Regions from separate parts of the Homo sapiens genome. Here regions 1, 3 and 4 are each linked to region 2. The links are contacts of gene promoters, found by promoter capture Hi-C in blood cells and fetal thymus (Javierre and others, 2016). All regions are on one chromosome and are shown on one strand. The core of a region is centred on a gene start or on the middle of the fragment in contact, and the rest is flanking DNA. Distances in the headings are between cores, read along the strand shown. Region 1 overlaps VAMP1 (vesicle associated membrane protein 1). Region 2 holds the start of NOP2 (NOP2 nucleolar protein). Region 3 overlaps CD27 (CD27 molecule). Region 4 has its middle 10 kb from the start of VAMP1.

Evidence for each region. Contacts are between HindIII fragments. The CHiCAGO score rates a contact against its expected background, and 5 or more counts as called.
Region 1: a contact is called between a fragment that was not itself captured here and the fragment with the promoter of NOP2 in region 2, in 8 of 17 cell types (total CD8 T cells, naive CD4 T cells, activated CD4 T cells and 5 more). The highest score is 9.5, in total CD8 T cells.
Region 3: a contact is called between a fragment that was not itself captured here and the fragment with the promoter of NOP2 in region 2, in 8 of 17 cell types (activated CD4 T cells, total CD8 T cells, naive CD8 T cells and 5 more). The highest score is 7.4, in activated CD4 T cells.
Region 4: a contact is called between a fragment that was not itself captured here and the fragment with the promoter of NOP2 in region 2, in 9 of 17 cell types (activated CD4 T cells, total CD8 T cells, non-activated CD4 T cells and 6 more). The highest score is 11.0, in activated CD4 T cells.

What each region holds. Positions count from the first base shown.
Region 1 is chr12:6,462,067-6,465,031 of GRCh38, reverse strand. VAMP1 (vesicle associated membrane protein 1) reads left to right here. Exons shown (of 5, transcript NM_014231.5): 4 at 91-142; 5 at 546-2,795. The coding sequence ends at 562. TAPBPL (TAP binding protein like) reads right to left here. Exons shown (of 7, transcript NM_018009.5): 7 at 2,716-2,965. The coding sequence ends at 2,883. Among named protein-coding and RNA genes, the nearest start is that of VAMP1, 7.1 kb to the left of the region's middle. The HindIII fragment of the contact is 4,495 bases long and covers 1-2,965 here.
Region 2 is chr12:6,566,839-6,569,552 of GRCh38, reverse strand. It overlaps NOP2 (NOP2 nucleolar protein), which reads left to right and starts at 1,262. Exons shown (of 16, transcript NM_001258308.2): 1 at 1,262-1,346; 2 at 1,631-1,737. The coding sequence starts at 1,635. It overlaps CHD4-AS1 (CHD4 antisense RNA 1), which reads right to left and starts at 1,182. Exons shown (of 3, transcript NR_199067.1): 1 at 23-1,182. RefSeq lists enhancers at 918-967, 791-1,412. The HindIII fragment of the contact is 18,468 bases long and covers 1-2,714 here.
Region 3 is chr12:6,445,011-6,447,710 of GRCh38, reverse strand. CD27 (CD27 molecule) reads right to left here. Exons shown (of 6, transcript NM_001242.5): 1 at 2,480-2,700; 2 at 2,156-2,287. The coding sequence starts at 2,615. CD27-AS1 (CD27 antisense RNA 1) reads left to right here. Exons shown (of 6, transcript NR_015382.2): 4 at 624-750. Among named protein-coding and RNA genes, the nearest start is that of CD27, 1.4 kb to the right of the region's middle. RefSeq lists enhancers at 1,476-1,595, 2,305-2,484, 2,515-2,574, 2,119-2,620. The HindIII fragment of the contact is 1,460 bases long and covers 596-2,055 here.
Region 4 is chr12:6,479,165-6,482,094 of GRCh38, reverse strand. It overlaps the pseudogene PKP2P1. Among named protein-coding and RNA genes, the nearest start is that of VAMP1, 10 kb to the right of the region's middle. The HindIII fragment of the contact is 162 bases long and covers 1,541-1,702 here.

The DNA.
Region 1 (2,965 bases), core at 1-2,500, 100 kb after region 2:
GATGGAAGGAATTCTGTTTCCCACTAGAGATGTGGCTCTTTTCCTCATTCCTGAAATCCAAGGGCTCATTTTTTGTCCATGTTTCCTCAGATGATGATCATGCTGGGAGCCATCTGTGCCATCATCGTGGTAGTTATTGTAAGTAAGTATCGCTGAAGTTGCTGGTGGGGTGAAGAGGTGGGAAGGTCCTGGAGTCTTCTCCCTGCCTGCCTGCCTGCCTGGGGAGTGGGGCTGCTCTGACTGAGGTATGGAGACCGCTGCTATGGGATCGTCACCTGGTTCGGGACGGGGGAAGGGCAGAGACAAGGGATTTCTTTGATGGACAAGCCTTCCCCCTGCAACGCATTGCAGGGAGATGGCGCCTCCTGTTCTGAGGAAGTGGGGCTATGCTGTGTGTCACTGGCTTGGGTTGGAGGGAGACCATGGGGATGGGGCACTTAACAATGGAGAGACCTGAATGTCTGGTAACTTGGTGTAATTCACCCTCTTGTTTTCTCCTGTCTCTTTCTCTTTTCCGTCTGGGACTTCCTGATTCCTGTGTCCAGTCTACTTTTTTACTTGAGAATGTACCACCCCTTCCCTGTTGTCCATTGCCATCCACATTCATGTCCTCTGCCCTCTGTTTGCTCTCTCAACACACTTCCCCACCCACCGTCCTCCATTCCAGCCCAGGCTTCTCCATCACCCATTCCTCCTTTTTCGTTGCGTTCATTTGCACTCTGTCCCTCAACACTAGAAATGCTGCTCGTGGCACAATCTAAGTCATTACCCGAAGAGCAACAGCTGGCGCCTCCTCCCTGCCTGCTTTTTCTGTACTCTCAAGTTCCCCCAAAGCCCCAAAGAGTTGGAGGCCAAGGGAAGGGGCAGGGAGGGGAGTGGCTGAGGCGAAGTACCCATGAAGCTGCCCAGACTTGGGAGGAGAAGAGTATCGGTGCCCATGGTGACTTCTAGAAAACCTGGCCACTGGTAGGAGCTAGGGAGGGGCTGGGAAGATGGCAGCTCACTCAGTACTGCCTGGTCATGTGGAGCTTTCCTTCCTGGACCAGGCCTGAAGAGGGTCCTGGGGGTGGACCAAAGTCCAACTTGGTTTCAGTGCAGTACCCTTTTCGAAAGTAAAAACTTGTTTTTTGTAGTTATTTCTAATCTGTTCGTCCAGGATTTTCCGTGTCTTTGGGGATCTTACAACTTTACTTTGTTCTCCAGAGGCCTGGAGAACACTTAGGGATTGTGAAAATAGCAGGACTTGTTTCCATCCTAGAAGCAGTCCCATGTGCTTCTAGCTGGAAGGAGCTTTCTCTTCTTTACATTTTCTACAGCATTCTGTATGAGGGCACCAAATAAATCCATCTAGCTGGTAGTTTTATCTAGCCAAATAATTTAACCTAGCTCCCAGTTAATTGTTGGCATAAAGAGAGAGATTGCCTGTTAGTTATAGAGAAACAGTGAGTCAAGTGCTTAATTTGAAAGTAACAAGCTCAGAGGAAGCCACTCCTTGCCCTCGTTAAAGAGGGTCCTGTTCCTCTCTTCCTGTTGATGAAGGAGCGTGAGGGTGTTAGCAGTGTGAGATCTTTGGACACCCATGGAATCCTTTCCTCCACACCACCCGTGCACTTGCCAAAGACAGGGATGAGGCAAGTGGTTCTTCCTGGGGCCCGGCCGATCCTCAGGATGCAGAGAAGTCATGTAGACCCACCAGCCCCACCTTGGGGGGAGGCGTGCCAGCCTGTGTCAGGTGTGCTTGTGTATTGCTGTGCTGTCATGGGGCCCTCTCCTTGAGAGCCGCCTCTCTGTTCTTCCTGTAGTATATTCCCCTTTGAACCACCCTTTCCTGTCTGAATTCTACTTTGCCTCCTTTCTCTTCCTCCTCTTTGCATGGTTTGTGTGTATAGACAGTGGAACCTGAGGATGGGATCTGCTCAGCCTATCTTCGGGGCAATTGCTGAGCTTCAGGATGGGCTATTAATGTGGGATAAGCCCAGGTGCAAGGGGAGGAGGGCAGGCTGGGAACAGAGCGGAGAATGCCCATGGCCCTTTATTCCTTCTTCCCTCGGTCCACGAACAGGAAGAGGCTGAGGCCATGCTGGGCAGGGTCTGGATGCCCACTTTCCATGCAGCAGCATTTCATTGCTCAAAACCATCCTTCCTTTCCTTTCGCCCTTGTTTCCCACATTCCCTTCGTCCTGCCCAAGGGCGGGACTGAAGAGCTGGAAGAAAGCAGTCAGTACCCTCCCAACGGCCCCCCTCGAAGGTCTCCACTCTCCTCTGGGCTCCTCCTTGCCTAATGCAGGGGGTCACCGCTGGAGAAGAACCACCACTGTCCTCGATGTGTCCCAAGCCTGGAGCGAATCCGTCCTCTTGGCTCTCCCAGCCCTATCACAGGAATCATTCCTGGGTTTCTGTCCCTCTGAGGCTCACCAGGTGTAGTTGGCCTTGTTCTTTGGGGGTATTAGCCCTTCTACTTTCTTTCTCACCCACCCTGTACCCTCTTCTGTGTGTCTCTGCTATCCCCCTTTCCTCCCACCACCCATGTGCATGAGCAAATGTGCAACAAAACCCTGGGACTTTGCAGTCAAATGAAGCTGAGCTTCCCACATCCCGTTCTTCGGTTTGCCATGAGACGATGTGGGGTTTCCACTGTGTGTCTGTCATCACCTCTTTGTCTTTTTTTCCTAACCCTGATCTCATACTTGTATAGAGTAATAACAACAGTTGTACTTCCACCAAAGGCATGTGGCATATTTACCAATGTCATGTATTCTGAACAAAGGCAAAAAATACAAATTCCTACCATTAAACTGGCTTGGTTGTTGTTTGGGTTGGAGTAGCTGTGGGGGCTTGGGGAAGGGTGTCGTTTCTTTCTAGTAGTCTCATGTCGCTTTAGGTCAGCTGGGCTGGCTTACACGCGCTGTGCGGTCTTCATGGAGATGGGAGCTCTGTGTGTCAGCACAGGAAGTGGTCTCCCAGC
Region 2 (2,714 bases), core at 13-2,512:
TCCCAACTAATTGTAGACCCACCTGAAAGCGAGTTCCGGCGAAGAGGCCCCCTGCGAATGAGGTGCAGTGCAGCACCTTAATTGAGGGGCTGAGCAGGGGTCAGCATCAAGGAAGGTGCTGGGAGGGCGGGGCACGGTGGCTCACAGCCTGTAATCTCAGCACAAAGGTGGGGGCAGGAGGATCGCTTAAGCCCAGGAGTTCTAGACCAGCCCTGGCAATATAGTGAGACGCCACCCCCTACAACCCGTCTCTATAAAAAGATTTTTAAAAAAGGGGCAAAGAGGAGGAGGTAAGTGGCATGGAATTCCACGGTTTTTTTTGTTTGTTTGTTTTGAGATGGAGTCTCGCTTTGTTGCCAGGCTGGAGTACAGTGGCGCGATCTCAGCTCACTGCAACCTCCCCCTCCCGGGTTCAAGCGATTCTCCTGCCTCAGCCTCCCGAGTAGCTGGGACTACACGCGTGCGCCAGCCACCATGCCCAACTAATTTTTGTATTTTTAATAGAGACAAGGTTGGCCAAGATGGTCTCGGATTTCTTGACCTCGTGATCCGCCCGCCTCGACCTCCCAAAGTGCTGGGATTACAGGCGTGAGCCACCGAGCCCGGCTGGTTTTTTTGTTTTTTTTTTTTGAGGTGGAGTTTCGCTCTTGGTGAGGCTTAAGTGGCACGATCTCGGCTTACTGCAACCTCCGCCTCCCGGGCTCAAGCAATTCTGCCTCAGCCTCTCGAGTAGCTGGGATTATAGGCGCCCGCCACCACGCCCGGCTAATTTTGTATTTTTAGTAGAAGCAGGGTTTCACCATATTGGCCAGGCTGGTCTCGAACTCCTGACCTCAAGTGATCCACCCACCTCAGCCTCCCAAAGTGCTGGGATTACAGGCGTGAGCCACTGCGCCCAGCCTGGAATTCCGTGATCTTGACGCTGGACTAGGGCAGTGGATGCGAGGGAGAGGGCTCCAATGTCGGGCCCTGGTTCGAGGAGAAGGTGCGGCTTTCACCCAACAGAAACCGGCCGTGAGGCTAAAAGCCAACTCCATGAGGGAAGGTCGGTCAAGCTCAATGGTTTCGTCACATTGCTCCCTCCACCCGCCGCGGGTGTAAGCTGCGCGTCTCCTTCGAATTGCCCCCTACTCGCCGCCGCCGGCTCCGCTGGCGTTCCCAGGGCGAGCGTAAGTTCCGGGTGCGGCGGCCGACTAGGCGCAACAGGAAGAGGCGGGGCCGCGAGGCTAGCGCTACCCGTGCGCCTGCGTGGAACGATTCTGTGGCGAGTGCCGGCCGAAAGCTAGGTCCGGATTGCACGTGGAGGGCCGCCCGAAGGGCACTCTCGGACATTAACCCGCATTCTGGTGGGTCTAGAGGAAATTGGGGGACGAAGAGTGGCAGCACTGACCTGGTCTGGGACGTGGGGAGAAGGGTGCGCTACCTGGGTTTCAGGTGGGAGGGCGTTCGGTCGGGCCTCCAGGGGGATAGCGGGGGTGCTTGAGTCGCGGGTGCTGAGTCGGGAGTGCTGAGTGAGTTGCGGGTGCTGAGTTGAGGCTGTGCCCTTTCCCACTATAATACGCCAAGCGTGCGTTCTGCCGTTCCCTCCGACACGCGCGACGCCACCTTCTCCCATTTCTGCCTGCCACAGTACCATGGGGCGCAAGTTGGACCCTACGAAGGAGAAGCGGGGGCCAGGCCGAAAGGCCCGGAAGCAGAAGGGTGCCGAGACAGAACTCGTCAGATTCTTGCCTGCAGGTAAGGATTAGTTGTGGCCTCCTGATCCCTCAGCTTTTGCAGTATTCTGTATTATAACCTCTTCTCTTTTTTAGTTTCTGTTCATTTTATATTTAAGTGGAATCTTCTCTGTATGAGTTACTAGGAGGTATGAATGAAACAGCCGTTTAGATTGTAGGGAACTGTTTAGGTCGTAGAGATGTGAAGACACGGACACAACTATTATTCATGCAAGGGAAAAGTGTGATTTAAAACAATTGTGAGTTCAGAGGAAGGGGGAGCCCATGCAGAACTGTAAAAGTTTTTGTTAAGCTGGGTTTTGAAAAATGGGTAACATTGTAGCAAGAGGAAGTAGTGAAGGGGAGGGGTCAGTCACTGATTTGCCTTTTGGAAGGGGTGGAAATGGAAAAGCACGGATCTGGCTGCTTCATGCCGAGTAGTAGTATACTGTGTGGAAGACTGGTGGGAGGTAACACTGGACCGGGAGTTTGTGTTGGGCATTGGATAAAGGATGCAGTTTATTGAGATAGTAGGAAGTCCTGGGCACTGTATTAAACTTGTTGGTCATGTTATATCGCTTAATCATCTTAGAGTCCTGTGAGAGAGGCACTATTAAGGAAACACTTTGGGAGGCCGAGGCAGGTGGATCACCTGAGGTCCAGTGTTCGAGACCAGCCTGGCCAACATGGTGAAACCCTGTCTTTACTAAAAATACAACAATTAGCTGGGTGTGGTGATGGGAGGCTGAGGCAATAGAATCGCTTGAATCTGGGAGAAGGAGGTTGCAGTGAGTTGAGATCACGCCATTGCACTCCAGCCTGGAAGACAAGAGTGAAACTCCATTTCAAAAAAAAAAAAGAAACTTGTATACAGTTATTAAATAATAACAGGGCTGAGATTTAAATGGACTCCTTTTAATTAGTGTACTAATTCTCTTACCATGTTTATTTCCGTTCCCATTTATTTTTAATGTCCCCTGTAACTTGTTCTGCCTCGTT
Region 3 (2,700 bases), core at 76-2,575, 120 kb after region 2:
ACATGTATACCTATGTAACAAACCTGCACATTGTGTACATGTACCCTAGAACTTAAAGTATAATTAAAAAACAAAACAAAACAAAACAAAAACAATGAGGTGCTATTGTTTTAGTGGTGAGTATCCGGAGACCTGGGAGTTCTATTTACCAGGTATAACCTGGGCTCAAAATTCCAGGCTGACTTCAGGCATGTCCTCATCTCATAGATGCCAGCACTAAGGCCCAGAGAGGGCCGAGCTCATTCAGCCCACCCATCTTCTCACCCCTGACTGCATTTCCCGGGGGTCCTTCTGCAGCCAGGTGCTGCTGTGGTACTTTGGGATCTATTGGCTGAGCTCCCAGAGAAGGGTCATGGATTGGGCTAGTTTGGAACAAGTGAAGGGACTGAAGATGGGCTCAGTATGGGGCGAAGACCTTCAGGAAGGGTCTGCAGAGTGAGTAGGGGGGTTTTGACTAGGAAAAGTTCCAACCCTGCCGGGGCCGCTGTCAAGAGAAAAGCATCTATTACAGTTACATTTTTAAGTTAAGTAGACTGAAGAATATTTCTTGTGTATTAAAGACGTTCCTTTTTGGTTGATTTGCAATGGAAAAGCTTTTGTTTTCTTTTTTTTTTTGGAAACAGGGTCTCACTCTGCTCACTCTGTCTCCCAAGCTGGAGTGCAGTGGTACAGTCACGGCTCACTGCAGCCTCCACTTCCTGGACTCAAGTGATCTTCTCACTTCAGCCTTCTGAGTAGCTGGGACTACAGGTTCGTGCCACCACGCCTGGCTAACTTTTTGTATTTTTAGTAGAGACAGGGTTTTGCCATGTTGCCCAGGGTGTTCTTAAACTCCTGGGCTCAAGGGATCCGCCTGCCTTGGCCTCCTAAAGTGCTGGGATTACAAGTGTGAGCCACTGCTCTGGCTTTTTGTGTGTGTGTGTGTGTGTGTGTGAAAAAGGGTTTTGCTCTGTTACCCAGGCTGGAGTGCAGTGATGTGAGCAGCCTGGACCTCTTGGGGACCTCTTGGGCTCAAGTGATCTTCCCATCTCAGCCTCCCAAGTAGCTGGGACTGCAGGTGCACTACCATGACCAGCCAATTTTTTTAGAGACAAGGTCTCACTATGTTGCCCAGCTGGTCTCAAGCTCCTGGGCTCAAGTCTCTACAAAATATGCAAATACCCTTCTGCCTTGGCCTCCCAAGTGCTGGGATTATAGGCATGAGCCACCACATCTGGTGTTGGTTTTTGTTTTTGTTTTTACGGGACCAGGCACTACAGCTCACACCTGTAATCCTGGCACTTTCAGAGGCTGAGACTAGAAGATTGCTTGAGCCCAGGAGTTCAAGGCTGTGGGGAGCTATGATTGCACCACTGCACTCCAGCCTGGGTGACAGAGCTAGACCTTGTCTCTAAACTAAACAAAACAAAACCCAGTACCAAGAGACCCAGTGACACCAAACACGTTTTGCAAGTAGGTAGTTTAATAGTTACAGTTACCTGGTTCTAAAAAGTGTCTTGCTAGAGAACATTTGTTCAAAGGGGCCACTTTAAAGCCTGCTATTCTAGTGTATACTGGCCGTAGTTTCTGAAATTGTAGCGAAGATGGAGAAATAATAACAGCATTCATAAGCACAACTGCAGATATTATACTTCTTAGTTTAAAAAAAACCTTTTTTTTTGGAACTATAAAATAAAAACACAGGCTACATACATACTCATTTTCTCAAATTGGCTTTTGTGCAAAAAAAGGTTGTTACCTATTGGGTTGCTTTGTTATTTCCTTAGAAAGATGTATTCCAAATTCCCAATGGCCAACCTGCACATGTGCACTCTGGGAACACAGTCAGTTTATTGGTTGGGGGTTGCTTGCCCGAAATCTGGGGTCATAGAGCCACTTCTCTCATTTTATTGTCTTGATCCTATCCATAGACCCGTTCTCACCAATCCCTCAAATTCTATTTATCCCTTTCCTGGAATACTAGATGTCTGCCCACGTTAATTCATGCCCCACCTAGGGTGCCGCATTTCCCAGCATTGGCTCCACTTGCTGTGAGCCTTGAAGAAGGCCAAAGCTTTGGCCCCGTCATCCTCCTTGCACCCCCAAACCCGTCACCAGCCTTGCTCCCCCAGATGCTTGTCCATCGTCCCCACCTACACACCCTTGCCCACCTCACCAGAGTTACAGTGCCGACAGCTCTCACAGTGGGGCCGGGTGTGGTGGTCAGGAGAGAAGGAGACCCCCGGTATGCAAGGATCACACTGAGCAGCCTTTCTATGCTGGTCACAGTCCTTCACGAGGAATGTTCCTGGGAGGAGAGGGTAAGGGATCAAGGCCTGAGAAGGGCTGGTTCTCTGCCCTCTTCAAGGTGGTGCCTCCCCACAGCTGCAGGATTTCCCTCCTTGCTTGAGCTCAGTCTCACCCTGCGCCTATTTACTGTATTAACCCCAGTCCTCTCTCTTTCGCCACTCACCTGGCCCTTACCAAGGCCCCCTCTTACCTGGCTCACACATCTGGCAGCACAGCTTTCCCTGAGCCCAGTAGTGCCTCTCTGGGCAGCTCTTGGGGGCTGGAGTAGCTGAGAGCCCCACCAGGGTCCCCAGAACGCACAGCCACCAGGGATGTGGCCGTGCCATGGTCCCTGCCCAGGCGGCTCCTTTCTGTGCCCAGTTGCTGATGCTGGCCTCTGGAGTTAGCACCTCCAAGCTGGGCGCTGCTGTC
Region 4 (2,930 bases), core at 372-2,871, 88 kb after region 2:
GAATGCACTCCAAATGCTTATTATCAGAACTCTGGAAAAAGACATATAAATTCTCTCCAGTATTTTAAAAATTGGTATCTAAATTTCATTTTGAACTAGGTTAGTTACCTAAGCTATCTTCATTCAGCTTTTAAAACTGAAAAAAAATTTAAGTTTCAAATATAATAAAGACTTAAGTACATATTCAACATTTATTTTCTATTACACTTTTCTGGCCAAAAGGAGTTGAAGAGTTTTTTTCCTTATCTTACTTATGACAAACGTTGTCAGATTTAAAAAAAAAAAAACAAAATATAACAGAATAGTAGTTGTGAAGACTAACTCTATATGAATGGTTTTAATCATAATGCAGTTAAAATAACATTTAATATAGATTCATTTCACTGGATGATGTCACCTTTTAAAACACCAGTATTTCTCATATCATTTCTGTATGGTCTTGACACATTCTTATATCTTCTTCAACATGACTTCTTCACTTTTTTCTCTAGAGTTTTCTTGAATTAAAATAATGGCTTGAAGAAGATCATATGAGATTTAGTGGCCCTGTGATATTTCTTAAATGCTGGGCAAAGCTGGTTGATAATGTAACTCATTAAAATGAGCTGTATTTTCAGTGCCCCAGGCTGGCCGGGCAGTCTGATAGAAGGCCTTAGTTCCTCTTGCAGATAAAGACTAGAGTCCATTCTTCCACTAGTCCAGGGCAGTGGCCTAAAAAATACAGAAGGCCCGGTGCGGTGGCTCACACCTATAATCCCAGCACTTTGGGAGGCTGAGCCGGGCGGATCATGAGGTCAGGAGTTCAAGACCAGCCTGACCAACATGGTGAAACCCTGTCTCTACTAAAAATACAAAAAAATTAGCCAGGCGTGGTGGTGCACGCCTGTAATCCCAGCTACTCAGGAGGCTGAGGCAGGAGAATCACTTGAACCAGGGAGGCGGAGGTTGCAGTGAGCCAAGATTGCACCACTGCACTCCAGCCTGAGCTCCGTCTAAAAAAAAAAAAAAAAAAAAATGTCCAGGAAAGGCATTACACGGAATGCCATTGTTTAGAAGAGATTTGGATTTAATGGTGTTGTTATAGGTAAAGTATTTCCGGAGCAAAAATCTCATTCATTCAGTGTTTGGGGGAAGGTTAAACTTTATAATCACAGTTGCCTTTCTCTGGGGAAAAGATTTATTTTTATTTTTATTTATTTTACTTTAAGTTTTGGGAGAAAAAGGTTTCTTTAATTTGCTATGATCACTTCCTCTCAATTTCTTTTTCTTACAGTCATGCATACTCTGTAATCTAAATTTCTTAAGTTTATTTAAAAATCAGAGGAAAAAAACCTAAGGAGATAAAAACGAGCACAAAGTAAACAAAGAAACAAATAATTTTGCCATTATACTTTCTCCTGGATAACTGCAGATATTTCTTGTCATTTCCATTCTGTTTCAACACTACAGAACAATATACTCATGGCCCAATGGTGAAGCAATGTGCACATGAGTGACAAAACATGGGAACTAGAAAAGGAATATAAATGTAAATCAAGCTTTTAAAATCCCAGTAATGCAACAACTTCTTTCCTTATTTATTGGATCAAAGTCCATTCCACATGAATTCACATTTTGGTTCCAGGAGGCCATGCACCATAAGCCCTAATAACAAAGACCACTATTTGTAGAGCCTGTGACCAGTATCTACTGGTGGCAAGCTTGCAAAAGTCTTCTGGAAGACTCATAAGATTATGTTGTACTTGTTTTCTGGATTCGGGGGACCATGGAAATAGAAAATGATAGAAACGAGGCATGCTTTTGAGGTTTCTTGGGCTGGGTAGTAGAAAAATAGGTGTTTTCCTGTGGGATTTTTTTGCAGCTGAGAATACTTCGTCATTTTCCTCAGTCTTTAAGGGAGTGGTAGGCTTTGACAGTCCAGCTGTTGACAAAATCTGTCTTCTTAAACTGAGCCTTCTTGTAGGCATGATGGAGTTCCGTGTGTGCCTACAGAGAATACAGGAGGATGGAAGCAGCTTTACTTGCTTTGTTGGAGGCATAGGCATCGCCTGCACTGATGGTCATAATTTTCTGGATGCCCCCGGTATTCGGAAGGCGCTGTGCATTCTGGTAACTGTTTTGGATTACGTTGTTCAACATGTAACAGGCAGAGGCTGTAGTTTCAATGAGAAGGTCAGTACTCGGGACTGTATCAGGAATGATGGAGACCAAACTGGGGAGAGTTTCTTTGGCAATTTTATTCTGCAGAGAAAGATTCTGGGACAGATTCCTCAGCAGCAAGTTGGCTGTCTTTTTCACACTTGGGTCACTGACATGCACCATCTTTCGGGTGTGCTGCAGGCCATTTTCCTTCTGGACGACTGTCTGAGCCACTGATGTCGGCATTGGTCCACTTCCGGCTGTGAGGTTCTGGAGAGCGCCTAAGGAGGCTTCCTGTGTGTAGTTTGGGACACTCTTGGCGATCAAGGACAGATACATCCTTATCACAATGGAGTGTCACAGCCACTCCACGCCCTTGGGGTTGCTCTTTTCCTCTGGCATCGGCATGTCCTAGTATTGCTCTTTTAGTTTCCTGCTTCGACTGCCAAAACATCCAATACTTTTGTTGTTAGTCTGGACATTTGGGTTTTGAATATAGATATTCTGGGAATATTTCTCTGGGAGCTCTACCTCCAGCTGGTAGGAGAGGTTATGAAGAATGTGCACACAATTCTCCGTGGCCTTGTCATCTGGCTGGTAATCCGCAATGGTTCCTCTGACATAATGGACCAGTGAGTCAATGAGTCGGTCACATCTTCTCATTGCTTTTCTCCTATCAGGGCCAGCAGCACTCATGTTTCTTAGACATCCAGTGGGTTGTAGACTGTGTCAAAATCGAGCAAACCATTCGCTTTTGGGTAGTCTCCTTCAGGCCATCCAGAAAAGGAGAT